2 separate regions of the Homo sapiens genome follow, and region 2 is linked to region 1. The links are contacts of gene promoters, found by promoter capture Hi-C in blood cells and fetal thymus (Javierre and others, 2016). All regions are on one chromosome and are shown on one strand. Each heading gives the region's core, a stretch centred on a gene start or on the middle of the fragment in contact. The rest is flanking DNA. Distances are from core to core; before and after follow the strand shown.

Region 1 (4,860 bases), core at 1,467-3,966:
TTACTGACTCAGATTTAGGGCTTAAAGACTATTGAGAAATAGGAAGGTATTGAGAGACTGGGTTTCATCAGAGCGGACTTAAGTAACCTGGTTGATCTTAGAATTGTCACAGCAAAATCATCATGCTCAGATGCTTGGGGCCTGGCAGAACCTTGCTGGTCTCTGAAGGATGGGATAAATGAAGCAACAGTAAATCAGGTGCACTCCTTGATTTTTCAGGTAACATAACTTTAGAAAAAAACAATTCTAATACAAGTGTAACCTTATCCTGTTAACTCTGTTTCAAAAATAATTCTAAAACACTAAGACAATGCTTATCCTATTGCCTCCAAAATAGGATTTTGTATTTTAAATGGTTTACCAAAAAATGTATCTTATACTTTTGGGTAAACTTTTATTTTGTTATACAACCAAAAATCTTAAAACTATCTTAGTACATTAACGTTTTAACAGGTCAACTTTTAGTCTTTATGAGCAGTTTTCACGAAGTTTTACTCGACATTTAAAAAATGTAGTTAACATACTGTAGATGCTTCAATATTGCTGCTTATTCTTTGTAATCTTATTTGGCATAATATAATCATGTTCAGAGTTATTTTAAAGTAACTTAAAGTGAACAGACGCACTCCCTCCTCCCCCCACCCTCAATTAAAAAAAAAAGGAAAACAGAAAGAAAGAAAAAGAACAAAAAATAAGATTAGGTTCTAGGAGGAGGGAAACCCTAATCCAAGTGTGGGGATACAGAAGTCAGCTTTTTGCACCCATTCTCCATGCTACAGAATAAAATTTGAGACTACAGCCAAATATTTTCTAAAACCTTTCAAGACGCTCCAGTGGATTTCTGGATTTGTTCCTTTAAAATCAGGATACTCTGCCTTTGCTCAGGGGGCAGCATGGCAATCTGATCTGCAGTCAGTTGAAGAACCTGCATGATCAAAGCTGCCTTCTCCTGATCCTGTGGAGTGACCTGGCTCTGCCCAGGACTAAAACTGCTAGGCTGGCTTCCACCTTGCTTGCTTGCCCCCTGTATACCTCCTCCTTGTATACCTCCTCCTTGTATACTGACTCCTTGTATGCCTGCCCCCTGCATCCCTCCTCCTTGTATGCCTGCTCCCTGCATGCCTGTTCCTTGTATGCCTGTACCCTGCATACCAGCTCCAGGATTCCCCACCCCTGAAATGCCTGGGACCTGTCTGGGTCCCTGAGGAGGGCCACCTGCCCCTATATTAATGGGACCAGGACCCTGAATTCCACCAGTCATAGGGCCTCTTGAACTGGGGACAGGGCCCCTCATCTCCAATCCTCTTGCATCCATGCCCCTTGCTTCCATCCCTCTGGTTTCCATCGCACAGGTCTCCATTCCTCTCCTCTCCATTACACGTGTCTCTAAGACCTCAGTTTCCATGGCACGAGTCTCCATCGCTCGAGAATCTCTACCACCTCTACCATCCATAGGTAGACCCCTTTGATCTATCATGGGGCCTCTGGGCTCTCCAATTAGCAGTCTGGGATCTCCTAATGGCCCTCCCCTCATCTCATGTGAGGAAGGGCCACGAGTGTCATGACCAGAGGCATGATGCATGGGGGGACCCTGATGGGGTGGACCCAGATAACCTCTGGGCTCCACTTCTCCAGTGACTGAAAGCAAAGTCCCTCCACGTGGGTCATTTGGAGCATCTCCTAACAGTCCTCGAGGAGGCAGACCACCAGGAGTCACGGGTCCGCGAGGTATAGGAGCTCTAGGATCTGACATCTGCACTTGTCCCCGCTCTAAAGGCACTGGGCCAACCCCTGGCATTCCAAGTTGGGGCTGCATTGCTCCTCCAGGAGTTAAGGAACCAGGACCAGCTCCGGGAACTGCAGCTGGTATTGGCCCTGGAGCTGGAATTCCACCCTGGATAGGAGTCTGCATCAGAGGAGGAATGTCCTTCACAGGTCTTCTAGCCAAATGCTGAGGCTGAGGAGCTGGAGGATTCTGCTGGTTCAGCAGAACATTAGGTCCTGGGCAGAGCCCAGGGCCAGGGCCAGGGCCAGGGCCAGAGACAGACACAGACTGAGATTTGCCTGGGATCAGTGGTGTGACATGTATCTTCCGATGCAGAATTTTCAGAGCAATCTCTGGATCCATGATTCTCATCACTACTTGTGCCTGCAACAGTGCATAAGCCAGTTGTGGATTTTGAAGTAACATGTTTCGAGCTTCCTGGTGGCTGTTTTGGACACAGAGCTTCATCTGCTTCATCAGCTCAAACATCTGCTCCGGGGGGAGACTGGCTACTGCTCTGGTAATCGATTCAGGGGCATCTTCTGGATCGATGGGATCCCCATAGGGTGAGTCAATAATGGGCGCTGCAGGCCCAAGGCTCTTTAACTCCTCCTTATTCTTTTCACTGGCAGCATTGTCCACCCGAAGCGCTCTCCCACTGAACTCCCGCCCATTGAGGTTCCGCATGGCACTAAGCGCGGTCTCCTGGTCTTGGTATTCGCAGAAGCCATAGCCCTTGGGTTTTCCCGTCTCTCTATCGTATACCAGCCGGAAACTGACAACAGAACCAACCTCCGAGAAAATGTCCTTTAACTGCTCCTCAGTTGCCTCATATGGAATGTTCCCCACGAACACGGAACGCAGTGATCGATCCATTGCCGGGTCTCTCACCGCCAAACTCGACATGATTCCGGTTGTGCAGACAGCCGATAGCGGATTCTTCGAGGCGTCTGTCCTCTTGCGACCGACACTTCCGCTGAGCAACGGAAGCGGCTTTCAAGATCCGGGCAGAAACTTTACTAATTCGCTTGAATCGTTCCGCTTGCCTGTGGAACCTGCATCCCACTAACAACTTATCTAATGCTTTCAGTCCCTGATCCTTCATGGTTCTGTCAGCTTCTTATTACAGAGTCGCATGATTCCTTTCCCATTTCACGTTCCGCTGACTTTCTGTGGGGCCCCAACAGCCCCACTACGACACGCTTGGTACGAGATGACCACAGTAAAGATGGCCGCATAGACTTCACCGTAGTAACTGGGAGGGGACTCTTCCCTTGACGTCAAAGGCGGTTTTGCTTCCGTTCCGCTGGCGGGAAACCGCCAACCGAAAGCGGATTTAAGGCGGCGTGTTTTTCGTTCTGACAAAGTATTTTCATGTGGCCTTTTATTATAGTATAGTTAAGCTAGATTTAAAATCACATTCCAGACTGAGGGAAAAGCGTAGTCGTTTCAGCACATTTGAGATTTGCCCCTTAAACTAAAACAGTATTATATCTCCTTTTTAGAACAACGTTTTTGGAAATTAACTGACAAGAAATATAAACTGAAGCGTGTGCCGGCTGGGCCCTGCCCCCATTCTGTTGCTTCCTATAACCGCTGTTAATGGATGGGTGGCAGACCCTTCTAGGTTTTTCCTGAGCACACGGGCAGCCGTCGTGCTATTCCTAATATTACGGTTTTCTTCCTTAATAACAACCGATTTCAATATTAATTGGTGATTAAATAAATTAGTGATTAATTAGTTATTAGTATTTTATGGCTTCAGAGTATGGAATAAAGAAATTTACTTAACTATCCCTACGTTGATTGGTTCTGATTTTTATTATATCATGCAGTGAGTCCACCACTTCCATGAAGGGAGAAACAAATAGCGGGTGTTTGTCTTCTGCTGTTAGCTTTGCAGGTAGGAGTTAAAACATATTCAGTGTGGTGTTTCCCCGCCTGCAATTCGAAGCTAGAACTGAAGCTTGGAGAGGGCTAGGTAAATTCCCAAGGACAAGCAGCTGGAAAGAGGCCAAGTCAGGATTCTAACCCAGCTTGGTCTCGCATAGCTCCAATTCTACACTGCCTTACGTGTATTGAATATATGAAATGAAGCTAGTGTGATTGAAGAAATGAATTTTAAATCTCATTTTTTATTTAAATATAAAAACTAATGTTCAGTAAGCTATTGGAAAACTTTTTTAGTATTTAGAACAACTTGGATATAGAATCTACTTTTGCAATAATAAATTGTGTTCTAAATAAAAATCATTTTGAAGAACACTAAGACAAAAAATAAAAACAAATAAAAAGAAAGTATTTCCAGTCAAAATTTAACATACTGGTTGAGGTGTGCCATACATGTAACATACATGAAAGATTTTAATGATCAAATACAAAAAAAGTAAAAATAGCCCATCAATTTTATATTTTTTATAAGTCGAAATGTAATATTTTTATATATTTGAGTAAAAAATTATTTTGAAGTTAATGTTATTCATTTCATTTTACTTTTTTAAATGTGGCTATTAGAAAATTTAAAATTATATGGATAGATTGCATTATACTTCTGTGGACTGGACTGCTCCAAGCCTGTGCTTTAATTCCAAAACAGAGAATTATTTTATTCTGAAATATGCCTCTTAAGTGGATTATGAAACTTTTAAATTTCAGCAAAAAAATTGTATTATGTATCTTCAGTATCCTATTCCAATGAATAGATTTGACATGAGTATGATGGTTTAGCTGCAAATAAGACATCCATTTACCTTCAAGTTTTTGAAACAGTTCTGCACTTAGCTGTTCACCCAAGATGCGCGACAGTTTATATTTGCAAGTGACAAGGTTCATTTACATCACCTAATAAGATTTTCCTGCTATGTCAAAGAAACGGAATAGTCACCTGCTAGCAATGTTTCCCCAGTGTGATTCTTTTATTGGGGACGAAAGGGGAGGGGTTAAGGATAGTATCATTTAAAAAAACTAAAGACAAATCTATTTTTCTTCCTTCTATACCATCACTTTACAAAGAGAAGGCATACCTTTTTTATACACATTCTGTCAAGGGTAACTTACAAGTTGAATATGTGTGTAATTGTGTGTGTATTAAATGT
Region 2 (5,356 bases), core at 2,748-5,247, 4.7 Mb after region 1:
GAGGGGCAAGGAAACACAGGAAATTGCAGTTTCTTGTGGTGCTAGTTCTACAGTTCGTGTGTGTACACAAACAAATGTGGATGTGTATATCAGTATATATAGTATTGAGAGTCTTGCCTTGACCAGAGTTTACACAAGGGCCTGAAGGGTCCACAGCCTGCAACCAGGAATGGCGTGCATGGAGGGCACACGGTGGTAATACGTGCCAAAAGGAAAATCAGCAGGGCTAGTGGATAAGGAGTTTGAGAAAAGAGCTGAAATTTTAAATAGGGAGTGTCTCACTGAAGAGAAATCATTTGAGTCAAGATGTGAAGGAAGCCAGGGAGATATGCAAGGAAGGGGAAGAATGCTGGGCCTTGGGATCCCTCCTGGCGCTGAGCACCAGCCTTGGGGCAGAGTCTTGGAATAGCTGAGAAAGGACTCAGGGCAGAGGGCTGGATGCCTCGGTCTACTCTAGGGTTTTTCATTATTAGGGACTGGAGCAATCTACGAAGGGGCAGGGATGGGGATGAGAAGTGACTGGGAATGTGTCGTGTTGGGACAAGAAGACAGAAGTGAAACCGTCTCCTAGAGCACATCCTGTGGATTATGTGGATGTGGGGAGCGGCGAACGGTCCCCCAAAGGCTGTACTCCTGGAGCAGGCAACAGACACCTCAGGAACCTAAGACGGGACTGCGGTGAGGATCACTTCACGGCAGGGTCGAACCTCAACAGCTGTACAGGGTCGAGGGCACCAATCATTACACATAGGGGCCCACAAGGTCCTCCCAGGCCCGGCCCCAGCTGCCACTTAGCCGCAAACACTTACTCTAGGGCTGCAGCTTCCGCCTCTGTCTCCGCTGCCTCCATCTTTCCAGGCGCCGAGTTCAGCTGCCTTCCCACAATCCCTAAGATTACTTTGAAGTCACAGTCGACTTCGCGCCGGGGCAGGCGATTGGCTGCAGAGGTTAGTGGGCGGGCATCAAGGACCATTGTGCGCTCTAATTGGCAGGCGCGGATTCGCTCGTTGGCGGGCCTCGCTGCTTGGCGCAAGCGCGGTTATGGCTAGGCGCGCACGGGCTCTGCGCCTGCGCGCTAGTCCTTACGCGGTGCCAGAGACTATAAGTGGGCTTGAGCTCGACCGCGCGCCTGTGGAAGTTCTTTCTCTACTCGAAAAAGGGAAAGCATTTCCTTGAGTTTGCGTTTTAAGGGAAACTTACAGCATTGACACTTTATTTAAAATATTCACTACTGCTGTAGAAAAAAAAAAACAAAACCCCGAAAAACAGTGGGGCTGTTTCTAAGACGCTGGGAATCAGTAAAGAATAGTGATCCGGGAGATACAGGAAGCAAATGATCTGCGCTCAAAAAGCGAGCTGCTTTCAAAGATATTAGTATTTTATAGATGCGATGCAGGAGAGTGAACTCAAGCAGAGCCCAGCCGATTGCCTGCGTTGGCAAAATAGAACAGATATTCTGGGGAGACCAAGGTAGGTAATGTTCTTTGCAGAGTACAGGAGAAAGATAACTGCTGAGAGAGAACTTGGTATTCATTCAGCTGAGTACTGAGCAGTATGTGTCTCAAGAAACTAGCTAAAAGATTTTTAAAGATACCAGGACATGGCCGGTCGCGGTGGCTCACGTCTGTAATCCCAGCACTTTGTGAGTCTGAGGCAGGTGAATTACGAGGTCAGGAGTTTGAGACCAGCCTGGCCAACATGGTGAAACCCCCGTCTCTACTAAAAGTACAAAAAAAATTAGTTGGGCGTGGTGGTGGGCGCTTGTAATCCCAGCTATTCGGGAGGCTGAGGCAGGAGAATTGCTTGAACCAGGGAGGCTGAGGTTGCAGTTAGCCGAAATTGCGCCACAGCACTACAGCCCTGGTGACAGTGCGAGACTCCGTCTCACAAAAAAAAAAAAATACATATATATATATATATAAATATATATATATGGACATTACAGAGGGTCAGAAATAGTCTCTATTTCCACTAACCAGGCTGGAAAACTTCATAGTCCGTAGGACACTGGACAGAGTACACACAAAAAAGTCTTGATTTGATAGTTGTTTACTAATTATTTAGTAGGCAGTAATTAGTCCTAGCTGATCAGTGCTGTAGTGCCATCTAACTCTTAAAAGTAAGACCCAAATGGATCAAACTTAACAAACCATGACAGATGACAAGACCAAACTTCAGCAGTATTTATAGAAATAGAAAAATGTTCACCAAAGGTGCAATTTACATATGTCATACAAAGAAAAATTACCAAGCTTGCAAAAAGAAAAAAAAAAACACATAATGAGGAGAAAAATCAATTGCTGATCAGAACTGAAGTAATGTTAGAATCAACAGGCAAGGACATTAAAACAGTTATTGTAACTATATCCCATATCTTCAAAAAGATATCAGAACTATAATGAAAAAGGTAAGTGGTGCTAAGGATGTAAAGAAAGTGGAATTCTCATGTTGATGGAAATGTAAACTGGTGCATAGGCTTTGAACGTAGGGTTACCATATGAGTCACAATTTCATTCCTAGTTATATATCCAAGACAAATAAAAACATGGGGACACAAAAGTACACAAACCTCTATAGCAGCATTATTCACAAAAGCTGAAAGGTAAAAACAACCCAAAGGCCCATTAGCTGGTGAGTGAAAATGCATACTTTCATTCAATGAAGTATTAATCAGTAGTAAAGAGAACTTTATTACATGCTAAATAATGGTTACTACATGCTAAAATATGAACCTTGAAAATATACTAAGTGAAAGAAGCTAATTACAAAAGACCACATAATATATTATTTCATTTATGTGAAATGTCTAGATTTGACAAATCTATAGCAACAGAAAGTAAATTTATATAGTGCTTGTCCAGGGCTGGGGATTGGTGGGAATGAGAGGTTGAGAGAGTATGGGGAGGGACTGCAAATGGATATAGTGTTTCTTTTAAAGGGATAAATAAAATGTTCTACACTTCGGTTATGGTGAAGGTTGTACAATTCTATACAGAAAACCGCTAAATTTACACTTTACTGCTGTCATAAAAGCTGTTAAAAAAGTTAATCAAAGACACAAAGCTTGTAATAAAGACCTAAATCAAACTTGTAGAGGTGAACACTACAATGTGATAGATGGAATTAGATGGTATTAATATAGTATGTTACACATTGCAGAATGAAAGTGAAACACAGCTCTAGAGAAACTACCCAAAATCAATCACAACATTAAAAAATGAAAATAAAGTAACATGAACAAATCAATGGTGAGCTGTGAGACAACTTCTAACAGCCTAATAATATACTTGAAAGTGGAGTCTCAGAGAGGCAAGGGGAGAGGACAAGAAAACAAGTAATAAAGACCAAAAAATTTGAAATGTGATGAAAAATATAAATTCATATATTCAAGAAGCTTCACAAATCTCAAACACAAGAAATATTAAGAAAATGACATCAAGTTATACCATAATTGCATAACTCAAAACCATTGATAAAAAATTCTAAAGTAATAAGGGGTGTTGGGGCACATGTTACATAGAAACAAAGATAAGGATTACGGGAAATTTCTTCTTGGAACAATGCAAGCAAGACAGTAGAGTAACATCTTTCAAGTACTGTAAGAATAAAAAAAAGTCAACCTTGATTTCTGTTTCCAGCAAACAGCTTTCAAAAATGAAGACTAACTAGGCTGGATGCAGTGGCTCACACCTATAATCCCAGCACTTTGGAAGGCCGAGGTGGGCAGATCACGAGGTCAGGAGATCAAGACCATCCTGGCTAACACAGTGAAATCCCCCGTCTCCACTAGAAATACAAAAATTAGCCAGGCGTGGTGGCGGGCACCTGTAGTCCCAGCTACTCGGGAGGCTGAGGCGGGAGAATGGCATGAGCCTGGGAGGTGGAGGTTGCAGTGAGCCAAGATCGTGCCACTGCACTCCAGCCTGGGTGACAGAGCAAGACTGTCTCAAAAAATAAATAAAAATAAAAAAGAAGGCTAACTAAAGACATTCTTAAACACACAAAAATGGAAGGAAATTTTCAGCATAAGATCCCACATGAAACAAGAAGTTCTTCAGGCAGAATGAAAATGGCATTAGCTTCAAATCTGAATGTATACAAAGGAGTGAAATGTGGTCCTGGCTACTTAGGAGTCTGAGGTGGGAAGATCACTTGAGCCCAGTTCAAAGCTGTGATGAGTTGGTCATGCCATTGCACTTCAGCCTGGGTAACAAAGTGAGACCCTATCTTTAAAGGAAAAAAAATTGTGATGTGGGTTTTATAACATATGTAAAAGTAAAATGTAGCACAAAGTGTGGGAGAGAAGAAATAAAAGTAAATTTATATGCTTGTATAGTTTCTCTGAAGTTTTGTTATCAGTTGAAGGTGAACTGATGAGTTAAAACTGTGTTCTAGACTCTCTGAAGCAATAGTGCCAACACACTTTAGAAGGGCTACCAGTGAGTCATTTCCTTGTGTGATTTCTTTCTTTCTAGTGCAGATAGAAATTGTGACCAATAGAATACAATAAAGGTGATGGGATGTCATTCTATTGATTAGGTTGCTTGTTAGGCAGAGGGGATAGCATGCCACTCTCATGCCTCCATTTCCATGTATAGCAGAAGCTTAGCAGACTGCACAAAAAAAAGAGGGATTCTCCTTCTGGCCTGGAAGAAGCATACAACCATGTTGTAAGTTGCCTGTGGTAGTTATCACATGGCAAGGAACTCTGAGTGGCCTTTAGGACCTGTAAATAGACCTGAGCTGATAGCCAATGAATAGATGGGGCCCTCAGTCAAACAGCCCTGAGGGGATTAAGTTTCTACAAATAATCAAATAAAAAATAACGCTACTCAGTTAACATCGTGATTGAAAACTTGTGAGACCTTGAGCAGAATGCAAAACCTTGACCCAGTGAAACTGTCTTAAAATCTTGACTTGTAGAAACTGTGAGATAATAAATGTGTTTTTTTAAGATTCTAAATTGTGATAATTTGTTACATAGCAATAGAAAACTATTATAAACTTCTAAAACAAAGAATTGTAGGTAACAAATCAATAAAGGAGATAAAATATAAACAACTAATCCAAAAGAAGGCAGAAAAAGTGAAGACGAACAAAGAAAAAAATGAAGAGAATAAAAAACAAATAGCAAAATGATAGGTATAAGCCTAAGCATATGTGTTATCACCGTTAAATGTAAATACCTTAAATATACCATTAAAAGGGAGAGATTATTAGATTGGATACCACAGCAAAATTACGTTAAGTACACTAAATATAAAGAAATAAAAGGATGGAAAAATACCATGCTAATATTAATCAGATGAAAGCTGAAGTGGCTATTTTAGGGCATATATATACACACACACACACA

What was found. Contacts are between HindIII fragments. The CHiCAGO score rates a contact against its expected background, and 5 or more counts as called.
Region 2: a fragment that was not itself captured here is called in contact with the fragment with the promoter of CSTF2T in region 1 in 1 of 17 cell types (fetal thymus); the score reaches 9.4 in fetal thymus.

The regions. Positions count from the first base shown.
Region 1 is chr10:51,696,879-51,701,738 of GRCh38, forward strand. It overlaps CSTF2T (cleavage stimulation factor subunit 2 tau variant), which reads right to left and starts at 2,717. Exons shown (of 1, transcript NM_015235.3): 1 at 1-2,717. The coding sequence starts at 2,671. The coding sequence ends at 821. All of the region lies in intron 3 of PRKG1 (protein kinase cGMP-dependent 1), which reads left to right. RefSeq lists enhancers at 2,405-2,984, 3,109-3,797 and a silencer at 3,551-3,845. The HindIII fragment of the contact is 5,025 bases long and covers 1-3,729 here.
Region 2 is chr10:56,360,387-56,365,742 of GRCh38, forward strand. LOC124902546 (a long non-coding RNA gene) reads left to right here and starts at 1,073. Exons shown (of 2, transcript XR_007062372.1): 1 at 1,073-1,470; 2 at 3,639-4,333. ZWINT (ZW10 interacting kinetochore protein) reads right to left here and starts at 873. Exons shown (of 9, transcript NM_007057.4): 1 at 810-873. The coding sequence starts at 850. RefSeq lists enhancers at 583-1,322, 671-840 and a silencer at 931-1,140. The HindIII fragment of the contact is 1,210 bases long and covers 3,393-4,602 here.